2 separate regions of the Homo sapiens genome follow, and region 2 is linked to region 1. The links are contacts of gene promoters, found by promoter capture Hi-C in blood cells and fetal thymus (Javierre and others, 2016). All regions are on one chromosome and are shown on one strand. Each heading gives the region's core, a stretch centred on a gene start or on the middle of the fragment in contact. The rest is flanking DNA. Distances are from core to core; before and after follow the strand shown.

Evidence for each region. The method cuts DNA at HindIII sites, captures the fragments that hold promoters and counts their contacts. A CHiCAGO score of 5 or more calls a contact.
Region 2: a fragment that was not itself captured here is called in contact with the fragment with the promoter of SLC52A3 in region 1 in 2 of 17 cell types (M2 macrophages and megakaryocytes); the score reaches 7.2 in M2 macrophages.

Annotation. Positions count from the first base shown.
Region 1 is chr20:765,951-773,291 of GRCh38, forward strand. It overlaps SLC52A3 (solute carrier family 52 member 3), which reads right to left and starts at 2,550. Exons shown (of 5, transcript NM_033409.4): 1 at 2,347-2,550. RefSeq lists an enhancer at 2,725-3,224. The HindIII fragment of the contact is 2,026 bases long and covers 944-2,969 here.
Region 2 is chr20:551,758-559,098 of GRCh38, forward strand. No RefSeq gene overlaps it. Among named protein-coding and RNA genes, the nearest start is that of CSNK2A1, 12 kb to the left of the region's middle. The HindIII fragment of the contact is 1,723 bases long and covers 3,894-5,616 here.

The DNA.
Region 1 (7,341 bases), core at 1,300-3,799:
CTTTGAGACATAGTTTCACTCTTTTAGTCCAGGCTGGAGTGCAATGGGATGATCTCGGCTCAGTGACCCTCTGCCTCCTGGGCTCAAGTGATTCTCCTGCCTCAGTTTCCCAAATAGCTGGGATTACAGGTGCATGCCACCATGCCAGCTAATTTTGTATTTTTAGTGGAAACAGGGTTTCCCCACGTTGGTCAGGCTGGTCTCGAACTCCTGGCCTCAGGTGATCCGCCTGCCTCGGCCTCCCAAAGTGCTGGGATTACAGTGTGAGCCACCACGCCTGGCCCAAGCTGTCTTTTTATTAGCAGAAAACAAGAGAAGCCTTTCCTAACCGTGATTCATGAAAGAAAAGTTCAATCCGACACACAAAAGCAAACAAAGCAGCTTCTGCAAAAGATACCAACAGCAAGGTCAAAAGTTAAATGAAAACACGGGGAAAACATTTGCCACATAAATCACAGACAAAGGGCTCATCTTCCTTGTCAGGCCTCTGAGCCCAAGCCTGCGCGTGTACATCCAGATGGCCTGAAGTAACTGAAGAATCACAAAAGAAGTGAAAATGGCCGGTTCCTGCCTTAACTGATGATATTACCTTGTGAAATTCCTTCTCCTGGCTCAGAAGCTCCCCTACTGAGCACCTTGTGACCCCCACCCCTGCCCGCCAGGGAACAACCCCCTTTGACTGTAATTTTCCACTACCTACCCAAATCCTATAAAACTGCCCCACCCCTATCTCCCTTCGCTGACTCTCTTTTCGGACTCAGCCCGCCTGCACCCAGGTGAAATAAACAGCCTTGTTGCTCACACAAAGCCTGTTTGATGGTCTCTTCACATGGACGCGCGTGACATTCCTAATATATAAAGAGTTTTTAAAAATCAAGAACAAAGAGACCCCATATAGAAGAGGGCCAAGGATATGAACAATTCAGAGAAAAAGGTACAAATAAGCTTTAAACACATGAAAATATTATCACCTTCATTCACAATAGGAAAACTACTCCAGGTGCCATTTCTCACCATGAGATTGTCCCAAAGCCTGACAAAATGACTCATGTTCAAGGTTATTATAGATTGCGATCTTGTTGGTAATAGCAAGTTATGGGAAATTTTCTCCTGGGTGGCTACCAACAGAGAGGGGGCTAATTAAAGGGACCTGCTGGAATACCACATACCTGTTTAAAGGAATAAGAAATAAGGAAAGCAGATCTTGGTGACTGATAAGGAAAGGTCTCCAGGCTATAATAATAATCTTGAAACAAAATCAAGGCAGGTAAATGGAACCAGGAAAAAGTGTACTGCCTTTTGGTCATAGAAGAGGAGGAAAAACATGTTTTCTTTGCTTGTACTTGCACAAAGCAACCCTTGAAGGACACACAGGGACTGCAGGGATGTTGGTGATGCCTCTGTATATCTTTTTTTTTTTTCTTGTGACAGAGTCTTACTCTGTCACCAGGCTGGAGTGAAGTGGCACAATCTCAGCTCACTGCAACCTCTACCTCCCGGGTTCAAGTGATTCTCCTGCCTCAGCCTCCCAAGTAGCTGGGACTACAGGCGCCCACCACTACGCCCAGCTAATTTTTTGTATTTTTATTAGAGATGGGGTTTCTCCGTGTTAGCCAGGATGGTCTCAATCTCCTGATCTTGTGATCCACCCTCCTCAGCCTCCCAAAGTGCTGGGATTACAGGCATGAGCCACCGCTCCTGGCCCTGCCTCTGTATATCTTTTAATAAGAGTTTTGATTTGTGAACCATGTAAACATATTACCTGATGCAAATATATGGTTACCTGAAATAAGATTTCAATCTGGCTTTTTTTCCTCCTGAAATTATATCACTCTCTACGTGGCCTTTGGAGACCACTTCCTCTAGCCCTCCAGAGCCATTCTGCCATCTGTTTACCCCTTTGTCAGCTACCAGTGGCAGCCCACCTGTGCTGTTACTAACAACTTTCTTCTATCTATCCTTAGTCTGAGCAGTAATATGGGAGATGCCAGGAGTGAGGCTCTGGAGCCAGCTGTTTGAGTTTGACCCTGGCTCTGCTGCTTACAATCTGGGTGACCCTGGGCAAGTGGCTTTGCCTCTCTCTGCCTCATCTCCTCATCTGTAAGTAGGGGATAGTGATAGTATGAACTCCGTGGTTTGTTGTGAGATATAAGGATGCTGGTGAGTTTATGCTGTTTCCAACAGTCCCAGCATAGGGTAAGCACCTCTAAGGGTTACTGATCATTATCGTGAAATGGCAGGTTTGGTGACATCGTTATTTTTGTCTAATTCACATGAGAATTAATACATGACTATGAAAATTTAAAAAAGGAAAAGATTCCCCTACTAGGTATCAAGTGAACTCACCAGTGGTATATGCACCTTTTTGTAGAGACACGCTAACTGGGCCAATCTTCACGTTTTGTAGATGGGAGACGAGGTCCGAAGGGGCAGAGGGGCTCTCCTGGGATCTGGACTGGATCCTCTGCAGCAAGCGGCCTGTCCGGGACTCCTCAGTTCACGCTGCAGTCTTTAACTCCATACTTCTTCCTTCTAGTACAAAGCAGGAGTGTCCGTTGTGGCCACGCCTCACCCAGGAAACTCCTGAATCCTGGCAGCTCCTCCCCACGGTTCCCACACACGGAATTCCCTCACAGGGCTGGGACTTCCTTCCTCATACCTTCACTGAGCGAACCCAATGCTCAGTGGCCTTTCTGGTCACCTCCTTTTCCTCTCTGGGAGGAGCCACTCCTGGGGTGTAACGCAGTCAGATCCCCTAGCAGTCCCGCTCTGCCCCCTCCCTTCTGGGGGCCTCAGACTCCATTCCCTCCCTTAGGAAGCTGACTTGACTAATAGCACAGGTGAGGCCCACTCCAGGCGTGCCAAGAGGACCCAAGGAGGGAGGGGAAGCTCCCAGACAGCAGTGGCACACCTTTGCCTGTGCTGTCCTCCCAGCCTGGAGCACCAGCCCCCTCTGCTGTCCACATCCAAGCTTTCTACAAGACTCCGTCCTCCAGGAGACCTCTGGCTGCCTCACCTTCTCAGGCGTCCTCACCAGGGCCCATGACCCCTTCATTTCAGGTTGTTCTTGTGTGGGTGCATGCAGGCACATACCTTGAGACTGAAGCTTTTTGAGGGCAGGGGCTGCTTGGGAATCTGACATTTTGAAGGTGGAAGGGCCTTTCTCAATGACTTAGCTTAGGATTTGTAAATTGTTAACTCACTGGCCACTGCCAGACAGCAGATATATTACTTTGGTTTGCCCAGTGTGTTTAACAATTTGTTACTGTAATCAGCAGTGGAGGGGATGGCAAGCAACCTTCAGCATTTCTGGCTTCTCAGGAATATTTTGGAAGAAGTGGCCCCCCACTTTGGCCTCTTTCTCTGTTCTAGACTCGGGCCATCTTGGAGCTCTCCCCTGCGGTAACATCTGGAACCAGTTGCCTGGGTTCAAATCCCAGCTTCAACCCTTACAAGCTGAGCAAGTGACCTAACCTCCTGTGCTTCAGAGTCTTCTCTTGCAAAACAGCTATAGGCTGTCAGTACCAACATCAGAACTGTTGCTAGGAACATGCACTAAAGTGCTAAAACTGTGCCTGCCACATAGTGAGGGCTCAATGAACCATCATTATAAGATTACTATTTCAGCAAACGTATCAGTTGCATTCAAAAACATGTAGTTATTGGCCAGGCGCGGTGGCTCACGTCTGTAATCCTAGCACTTTGGGAGGATGAGGCGGGCGGATCCCTTGAGGTCATGAGTCCGAGACTGGCCTGGCCAACATGGCAAAACCCCGTCTCTACTAAAAATACAAAAATTAGCCCAGCATGGTGGCGCACACCTGTAATCCCAGCTACTCAGGAGGCTGAGGCCGGAGAACGGCTCCAACCTGGGAGGTGGAGGTTGCAGTGAGCCGAGATCATGCCACTGCACTCCAGCCTGGGCAACAGAGCGAGACTCCATCTTAAAAAAGAAAAAATAAAAAAAAGGCGCAGTTTTTGTTAGACAAATGGCCACTCAACTAAAGGACTACATTTCCCAGCCTTCTTTGTAGCTGCACATGGCCATGTCATCAAGCACAGGCCAATGAATTCAAATGCGACTTTGAGTAGTCTCCTTAGCCCGTTTCCTGTTTAGAAAAAAAAGTGCAGCTCGTTGCCAGCACTCATTTAATTTTATGTAAACGTGCTATTTGAGGCTGAAGCAAATCTGATTCTGACTGCTGTTTTTTTTTTTTTTCTTTTGAGACAGAGTCTTACTGTGTAGCCCAGGCTGGACTACAGTGGCTTGATCTCGGCTCACAGCAACCTCCGCCTCCCGAGTTCAAGCAGTTCTCGTGCCTCAGTCTCCTTAGTAGCTGGGATTACAGGCGTGCACCACAATGTCCGGCTAATTTTTTATATTTCTTAGTAGAGACGGGGTTTCTCCATGTTGCCAGGCTGGTCTCGAACTCCTGGGTTCAAGTGATCCCCACGCCTCAGCCTCCCAGAGTGCTGGGATTGCAGGCGTGAGCCACCAAGCCCAGCCCTAAATCTGACTGATTTTCAATGTGAAAATAACATGTAAAAACTGTTTTTGAAGTTATTTCTAACCAGAACTAACATCAGACTCATCTATTTCAGAAAAACTGGATTCATCAAACGAATCTTTGGTCAACAACTGTTCAAGAACAATGTTAACATCACACATAGGAATGCTAGGATTTGCTATTTTCAGCGATCGAGAATTACTTTGTTTTGTAAATGGAAATACCACGACTAAAACCAGAATGCTACAAATAGAGTGATGTCTTTTGTTTCCAAAGTCAATATACTAGAGCAAGGCAAAAATAATAATAAAAGCGAGGTATTTTGTGGCAAAGTTATCTTGGGGTAAACACTGCAGTCACAAGTGGGTATTCCTTCTGGCAAACAGGGAAAGAGTTAACAATAAGGGAGTGTGCCCTTCTGCTCTTCCTCCATTTGGCTGTCTGGAATCAGATGTGATGGCCAGAACTCCAGCAACGATTTTGTGCTATGAGGCATGTGGTGGGGGTTAGATGCATACTAGGCTCCTTTGGGATTTTGTGGCAGAGAGCACCCATACCAGCCCTGTTTTGCCTGTGTTGAACTGTTTTGTTTGTTTGTTTAATGTTGTTGTTAAATTGTAAAAGAAACTTCTATGTTGTTTAAGTCACTCTTATTTTATGTACAACAAAAGTACTCAGAGGCTGGGTGCAGTGGCTCACTCGTATAATTCCAGCACTTTGGGAGGCTGATGTTGGCAGATCACTTGAGGTCAGGAGTTCAAGACCAGCCTCCAACTGGTCAACATGGTAAAACCCTGTCTTTACCAAAAACACAAAAAATTAGCCAGGTATGGTGGTGGGCACCTGTAATTCTAGCTACTCGGGAGGCTGAAGCAGGAGAATTGCTTGAACTCGGGATGTGGAGGTTGTAGTGAGCCAAGAGCACGCCAGTGCACTCTAGCCTCGGCGACAAAGCAAGACTCTTGTCTCAAAAAACTAAAAGAAACAAACAGACAAAAACTACTCCATACTAAGTGCACAGAGATACACATTCCAGGATATATATTGAAAGATTATAGTAACCAAAAACTAATGAATACATTTATCTCCTTTACCACCTACTTTCTGACTCTGAAACTTAGGTCCTGTCCCAACCAGGATTTGATCAAAAATCAAAATTTAACAAAAGTAGTTGTTTAGACCCTTGGGGGCAAATGTCTTGCAGAGATATGAAAAAAAAAAAAAAAAGGAGAAGAGAGAAAGAGGGAGGAACAGAGGAACACAGAACCCTCCATATAGCATTTGGTACCAAAAGTATAAATTGAGACCAAGAGTCATTTCATATATCAAAACTCTAATTCATAAAGGAGTCAAAATTGTAGTGACTATCTGTATTCTGAATATTTCCTGAAATAGCCTCAGACATTCCAGGAGAAATGGACAGAAGCACAGTCCAGCAGTACAGGCCTGACTCACCCTTCCAGGTCAAGACAGCAGACGAAGGTGCAAAATAAACAAGGATATAGCAAAAGCAATAAATGATATACCTAGTAAAGAGGGCTAAGTCAGTAGTTAAGGGGAGTAGGCGAATTTGCAGATGATGGTGACCTTTGCCATATGAAAAGCTATTAAACTAATGAGAGTGTCCAGTTAAACATTTACAAACATCAGTAGCTTTCCCACAGAGGGCTGGATGGGGAGATGAGGGCAGACAGGGCAGAAGTAGCCTCACTTTCTTGTATGTTCGACAACTCCTAAGCTCTGAACGCCTAAATCCCTGCTCCCCACAAAGACGAATTCTCTGGTTTTGACCCAGGTGCTACCACGGCTGTGTCACTTGAGGGATGGGATTTGGCTCCGGGGGTCTGTTTCCTTGTCTGGAAACCAGGCACAGTGGGGGTGTGTCCCCACGTGACCCATCTGCCCTATGGCCCTGGCCCACTCCCAAATTATCTCCTTCCTCAAAAGTGAGGTGTGCTTTTGGACCTCGGGGACACAGTGAGGAACAGTCATTAATGTCAATGAAGGGGATGTCTTAGGCAGAGGGAACTACATGTGCAAAAAGGCCCCAGAGAAAAGGAGAGACTCAGAATGGCTGGTGTTCGGAATGTGTTGGGATACTTTTAAAAGATGCATATCTGTATTTTCTGTTTTTTTTTTTTTTGTTGTTGTTGTTTGTTTGTTTATTTTACAGTGACCTTGCAGTTCTTATTTATTCATTTTAACCAGTATTTCTTGGGCACCAACTGTGTGCTCAACCACAATCCCTGCTCTCAGGAAGTTGGAGGAAGCATTCACGAAGCAGAATAAAAAACAGAAACATAGAGCAGGTCAGATGGTGGCAAGGACTCCGGAGGAAAGCAAAGCTCCTGAATGGGGAATGTGCCGCTGTCAAGGAGAGGACATGAAGGGAGTGTGGGAGTGAGCTGTCTGCAGAAAGCACGGTCCAGGGGAGAAAACAGCAAGTGAAAAGGCCCTGGGGTGCGGCCACACCTGCTCTGTCCCAGAAGTGGATTTTGCTGTTCAAAGGACAGCTAGGAGGCCAGTGTGGCCGCAGCAGCGGGAGCCAGGTTGGAGGGGAGGAGACAGGGCAGGTCCCCTGTGGCCCTGTGGTGACAGCTTGGGTGTTTTCTCTAGAGCAAAAAGCTCCGTGAGTGGGCAGAAGAGACCAGCTCTAATCTAGTTTTTAACAGGATCGTGCTGGCTGTTGTGAGGAGAAACATGAGGCGCCAGGGAGGAAGCAGGAGTAAACCTTCGGAGGGTTAGGAAGCTGTAGCAAAAGAGCTAACAATCACCATGACAACAGTGACAACCATAGCTGCCACTCCTCAGCTATTTATTGTGCCAGACCCTG
Region 2 (7,341 bases), core at 3,505-6,004, 210 kb before region 1:
GCAGGTGCTCAGAGGAAATGCTGTGTGAGGACACAGCAAGAAGGCAGCCATTTACAAGCCAGGCAGAGAGCCTTCACCAGAAACCCTCCCTGACAGCACCTTGATCTCAGATTTCCAGCCTCTCAGTGAGAGGCTGAACTGTGAGAAAATAAATTTCTGTTGTTTAATCCTCTCAGTCTGTGGCATTTTGTTATGGTAGTTTGAGCAGACTACTACTGAGTCATCAACAGAGAAATGGTTTTTAAAGCCATGAGGGGCCAGGCATGGTGGCTCACACCTGTAATCCCAGCACTTTGGGAGGCTGAGGTAGGCAGATCACTTGAAGTCAGGAGTCTGAGACCAGCCTGGCCAACATGGTAAAACCCCGTCTCTATTAAAAATACAAAAATTAGCTGGGTGTGGCGGTGTGTGCCTGTAATCCCAGCTACCCAGGAGGCTGAGGCAGGAGAATTGCTTGAACCCGGGAGGCGGAGGTTGCAGTGAGCTGAGATCGAGCCACTGCACTCCAGCCTGGGCGACAAGGAAGAAACTGTCTCAAAAATAAATAAATAAGTAAATAGCCATAAGGCTGGGTGAAATTGCCCAGGGAATGAGTGTAGACAGAGAAGGAGGACCAAGGACTGCGCCCTGGGGCATCCAACAGTAAGAGACAAGCAACCAGCAAAGGAGCCTGAGAAGGAGCAGCCAGTGGGGTAAGTGTCCTGGGGACCAAGTGAAAAACGTGTTTCATGGAAGGAGTGTTGATCCCCTGATCCCCTGTGTCAGATGCTGCTGAGGGGTCAGAAAAGAAAAGAACAAAGAGCTGATTTACAAAGTGGAGGACATTGTTTTGACAGGAGAGAGTGTAGGTAGGTTGGTGGGAACAAAAGTCTGATTGGAGTGGGATTAAGAGAGAATAGGAGAAAATATAAATATAGACATAGAAAGGAAGGAAAAAAGGAAGGAAGGAAGGAAGGAGGGCTCTTTTTTTTTTTTTCTTTTTGAGATGGGTTCTCACTCTGTCGCCCAGGTTGGAGTGCAGTGGTGTGATCTCAGCTCACTGCAACCTCCGCCTCCCAGGTTCAAGCGATTCTCCTGCCTCAGCCTCCCGAGTAGCTGGGATTACAGGTGCGTGCCACCACGTCTGGCTAATTTTTGTATTTTTAGTAGAGATGGGGTTTTGCCATGTTGGCCAGGCTAGTCTCAAACTCCTGACATCAGGTGATCTGCCTGCCTCAGCCTCCCAAAGTGCTGGGATTAGAGGTGTGAGCCACCACACCTGGCCTGGAGAGCTCTTTTTAAGAGTAGAAAGCTGGGCCAGGCGCAGTGGCTCATGCCTGTAATCCCAGCACTTTGGGAGGCCGAGGCAGGCGGATCACCTGAGATCAGGAGTTTGAGACCAGCCGGGCCAACATGGTGAAACCCAGTCTCTACTAAAAATACAAAAAGTTAGCCAGGTGTGGTGGTGCATGCCTGTAATCCCAGCTCCTCAGGAGACTGAGCTAGGACAATTGCTTGAACCTGGGAGGTGGAGGTTGCAGTGAGCTGAGATAGTGCCATTGCACTCCAGCCCGGGCAATGAGAGTGAAACTCTGTCTCAAAAAAAAAAAAAAAAAAAAGTAGGAAGCAAATGACTAAATGTAGAAGAATAGGAGTTGGCAACCACCATAGGAGACAATCATTAATGGACACTGCAGTAGTGGATTAAAGTTTGATGAGAAATAGGGCATTTGCACAGTCTGAGAATATCTCCCCCCAAGATACTTATTAATTACAAAGGGTAAAATAGTAACTTTACATGGAGAAACACAGCCAACACCACTTGACCAAGTGATAAAGTGAACATCACCAGTAGCAGGGCAAATTGACATCATGTGGCTTCCGGGATGATGCACTGAGTGGGACGTCGCGTCACGTCAGTGATATTTCTGCCAAAGAGGCATAATTGACTCATGAGGAAGCATTAGAAAAGCCCAAAGTGGCCAGGCACAGTGACTCACACCTGTAATCCCAGCACTTTGGGAGGCTGAGGTGGGCAGATCACGAGGTCAGGAGTTCGAGACAAGCCTGACCAACATGGTGAAACCCTGTTTCTACTAAAAATACAAAAATTAGCTGGGCATGGTGGCGTGCGCCTGTAGTCCCAACTACTCAGGAGGCTGAGGCAAGAAAATCGCTTGAACCCAGGAGGCAGAGGTTGCAGTGAGCCGAGATTGCACCACTGCACTCTAGCCTGGGCAACAGAGCAAGACTCCGTCTAAAAAAAAAAAAATGTCCAAAGTGAGGATATCTTTGCAAGAGAACCTTACTCTTTAAAAATGTTGAAGTGGTAAAAGACAAAGGAAGACTGAGGAATAGTTTTAGATGAAGGAGAATAAAGTAATTACAACTACTGAATGCAATGTGAGATCCTAGATTAAGAAAAAATCATTTTCACTTACTACAAAATATATTAACTAGATGAGTGGTGAAATTTGAATAAGATCTGTAGATTAGATAATGGTTTTGCATCAGTGTAAAACGTCCCGATTTTGGTTATTATAAGAGAATGTCCTTCCTTTTAGGAAATGTGTACTGGTTTTTAGGCCTGTAACTTACCATAAAAGAGTTCAGGGTTGGAGGAAAGAAAAATAAATGATAAAGCAAAGATGGTAAAATCTGGGTAATGGGTATTTGGCTATTCTGTTTTTGTTTTTGAGACAGGGTCTCACTCTGTTACCCAGGCTGGAGTGCAGTGGTGTGATCATAGCTCACTGCAGCCTCAACCTCCCAGGCTCAAGCAATGCTCCCACCTCAACCTCCTGAGTAGCTGGGACCACAGTTGCGCACCACCACACCTGACTCATTTTTAAATATTTTTTAGAGATGGGGTCTCCCTGTGTTGCCCAGGCTGGTCTCAAATTCTAGGCTCAAGCAATCCTCCCATCTCAGCCTTCCAAAATGCTGAGATTTTAGGTGTTAGCCATTGTGGCTGGTGAGATTTGAGTGTTCTTTGTACTACTTTGTAACTTTTCTGTAAGTGACATTATGTCAAAATAAATTCTAACAAGAGAGAATAGAAGGAAAGGAAGTAGAGACATGGAGGCAGTGAGTCCAGGTAACTTTTTGAGGAGTTTTGCTATAGAACTGAGGACAGGTGGCAGGTGGAGAGCAAAATGGGGTCAAGATAAGTTGTTCAAAGGCAGAAATTGTAGCATGTTTTTATGCTGATGAGAGAGATTCAGTAGATTGGAAAAAAAAGTAATAATGCAGACAGAGAGAGAGAAGAGAGTGGCTAGAATGGTGTCTCTGGAGAGAAGGATGGGATCTAGTATACAAATGGGGGCTTTGACCTTGGAGCACAGATGGCTCATCCATGGTCACAGAAGGGAGGGCAGAGTATTTGGGTACCAGATTGGTAGGTAGGTAGCTGTGCAGTGGAAATGTGTGGAAATGCTTTCTGATTGCTACCATTTTCCCTGTGAAATAGGAAGCAAGGTCCTTGGCTAAGAGTGAGAATGGGGGAGAAGGTGATGGAGGTTTGAAAAGATAGGAAGGAAGTGTGTAGGGAAAATGAATGGATCTACTGTGATTGTCAGGCAGAACAAAAGACACCACTGAAGCTATCATCATTCAAGTAAAGTGAGGCCAGTCTACATGGTGGTGTGTTTTTCTCCAGCCACATTCCACTGCAGGGGGACAAACACAGAGGGATGTGGAGTTGGCACCAACTAACAGGTGTTTAGTCAGAGAGGGTCAGGGGGATCTTGGGAGTATGCAGCACAGTGGGGATAAAGTTATATCATGGCTGTAATCCACAAAGAAGGAAGTGAGGACAAGGAAACACCAAGGTTCAGAGAGGTTTAGTGACTTACCCAAGCTTGCACAGCTAGTGAATAATGAGTTGGTCTCTGCATCCAGGCAGTGTGGCTCAAAGCTTATTCTCTCACCAACCCAGTATACACAGGCTGTCCCCAGGGTGTAGCATAGCATTTGGCACATGTAGCCTCTGCTAACAAGTGAATTAAATTGTACCTGGGGTTCTCTCTGCCTTTCATTCTATGCCTCCGAAGAATACTAAATAAAATAAAATAAAACAACAACAACATAAAAACCTAGCTTCTTCCTTGCCTTCAAGCTGTCTTTGATGTCTTAGTGTGCACGATGAAGGAGATGTACCATCAGTCTCCTTTGGGTGGCCATTGGTTCATGCCTGCAGTCTGGCTTTCAGCAGGTCATTCTCAGCACATACTCTGGGGCAGACACTTTCTCAGGTTCTCAGTACACAGCGGGAAACAAGTCAGTATTCCTGGCCTGGTGGAGCTCAGTCAAGTGGGGAGAAGATAAGCAGACAAATCTAGCATTGCAAACTGGGATTATCGCCAGGAGAGACAAGTGGGCGGGGTATGAGAGTGCATGAGAGTAAAGCCGACCTAGTGGAGGGCGGGAAGAAGAGTTTACCCAAGGAAGGTCAGGAGGGGTGGCCCATGGGGCTGACTGAAGAGGAGAAACAGCATGGGCAAAGGTCCTAAGATAGGAACATGCCTGTTAATGGCATATCAAGGAGGCCAATGTGGTCCAGACGTATATGGAGAGGGTGGAGGGTGGGAGGGAACATAGTGGGAAATGAGATGGGAGAGGTTGGCAGGATCCACTACACCCTGTAGAGGAATCTGATTTAAGAACAATAGGGTTTAAGCAGGGGAATGATTTCGTAAGGTTTTACATTTATCAGCCAGGTGCGGTGGCTCACGCCTGTAGTCCCAGCACTTTGGAAGGCTGAGATGGGCGGATTGCTTGAGCTCAGGAGTTCAACATGGGGAAACCCCATCTGTAAAAAAATATACAAAAATTAGGCTGGGCGTGGTGGCTCATGCCTGTAATCCCAGCACTTTGGGAGGCTGAGGAGGGCAGATTATGAGGTCAGGAGATGGAGACCATCCTGGCTAGTAGTGAAACCCCTGGCTAGATGGTGAAACCCCATCTCTACTAAAAATACAGAAAAATTAGCCGGGCGTGGTGGCAGGCGCCTGTAGTCCCAGCTACTCGGGAGGCTGAGGCAGGAGAATGGTGTGAACTGGGAGATGGAACTTGAAGTGAGCTGAGATCATGCCACTGCACTCCAGCCTGGGTGACAGAGCGAGACTCCGTCTCAAAAAAAAAAAAATATATATATATATATATAAAATACAAAAATTAGCAGGGCGTGGCATCATGCACCTGTATTCCCAGCTACTTGGGGGCTGAGGCAGGAGGATTGCATGAACCCAAGGAGTTGAGGCTGCAGTGAGCCGAGATCACCCCACTGTGCTCTAGCCTCAATGACAAAGTGAGATCCTGTCTCAACAACAACAAAAAAAATTTTTTTTATTTATAAAAGACCTCTTTGGCTGCTGGGCCAGGAGCAGGGAGGACAGGAGGCAGGGGTAGGAGTGGAGGTGTGGGAGGAGAGGAAGCAGGAGAGGAGTGGAGGTGTGGGGGCAGGGGAGGCAGTGGGTGGGCCAGGAGAGAGGTGATGTGGCATGGGCTAAGATGGAAGCAGTGCAGATAAAGAGAGGTGGATTGACTTGGGACATATTTTGGAGCTGGAGTTCACCACAGGGAAACTGAGGCCCAGTGCTTCCAAGGATAGCGCTCCAGCTCTCCCAGCCCAATGGAAGCTTTTAGATACTTCTGCACTGTGGGGGTCACTTGTGGGTGGTTGCATTGGGGGACGAGTGGCCAGGACAGGTGACCTCTGACTTTTGTCTGGTGATGCGTGAGTCTCAGATTGGGCTTTGAAGGAGCCATGGGTACCTTGCTGGGCAGGTGGAGCATGTCCTTAGAGGATCATCCCACCATCCTCACGTAACCCTGCAGGTCTCTTCTCTCTGAGTCATAGTTCTCACACTTGTAACATGAAGAGGGACAGTACCCACTTAGGCGACATCACCCCCTTCTTACAGATGAGACAACTAGGCCAGGTACAGTAGCTCATGCCTGTAATCCCAGCACTGTGGGAGGCTGAGGCAGGCAGATCGCTTGAGCCCACACATTTGAGACCAGCCTGGGCAACATGGCAAAACTCTGAATCTACAGAAAATACAAAGATTAGCTGTGTGTGGTGGCATGCGCCTGTAGTCCCAGCTACTTGGGAGACTGAGGTAGGAGGATCACTTGAGCCCAGGAGGTGGAGGTTACAGTGAGCTGAGATCCACCACTATACTCCAGCCTGGGAGACAGATTGAGACTTTGTCTCAAAAAACAAAAACAAAAACAAAACCACCACCACCACCACAACAAAAAAACCCAAAAGAAAACAGATGAGACAACTGAGCCTCAGTGAAGGGAAGTGGCTCTTTAGGGTCATACAGGAGTAAAGACACAGCCAAGACTAGCACCCAGGCTAGAGCCTGGGCTGTTGACCTTTCTGCTTCATCATTTGCCTCCCATACCTTTCCTGGGCTCGTCAGTCCTGGGGATGCTCAACTCACCCAACACTGTGTTTCAAGCCCAGGGAATCCAGGATCGGTTAGTTCAGTGGTTAGGGGTATGGGCTGCTTGGATTCTATTTCCAGCGCCACCAAGGGGCCTTATTCTGTCTGAACCTTGGTTTTCTCCTCTGCAAAATGGGGCTAACAGTGCATACCCTTGTAGCACTGTTACAAGGTAGGGGAACTGTACAGATGTAATGATTTGTGTATGTGAGTCATTTACAAGCCTTTGGAGTGGCTGGCACCCATCATTGTTTGCTGTTGCTGTGATTATCATGCCATTGGACTGTGGCTTGAAACCCTACAGGCCCAAGGCTCCCTTTAATAGTAGTTATAATGCTTCTTTTCTAAAATAAAATACATGAATAACATAACCTGCTGACGCACATAATTTTTTTTTTTTGAGACCGAGTCTCACTCTGTCATCCAGGCTGGAGTGCAGCGGCACAATCTCGGCTCACTGCAACCTCCGCCTCCTGGGTTCAAGTGATTATCCTGCCTCAGCCTCCCGAATAGGTAAGATTACAGGCGCATGCCACCATGCCCAGCTAATTTTTGTATTTTTAGTAGAGACAGGGTTTCACCATGTTGGCCAGGATGGTCTCGATCTCTTGACCTCGTGATCCTTCCGCCTTGGCCTCCCAAAGTGCTGGGATTACAGGAGTGAGCCACCGCGCCCGGCCATGCATAGTTTTAAACATAAATAATGTCCTAGTTGTAATTTAAAAGAAAATAAAGTGAAAATAATTTAGAATAAATTAATATGTAAATGTTCCAGGACAATGTGTAGAAACCATCACAAAGTAGTTGGGTGGGCTCTGCTCTGGGTGGAATCATTGAGAATCTGCAGGCTGAATTGGTAACGCCGCACTGGCGGCACATGCACTGTGACTGCATGGCTGTGATAGTC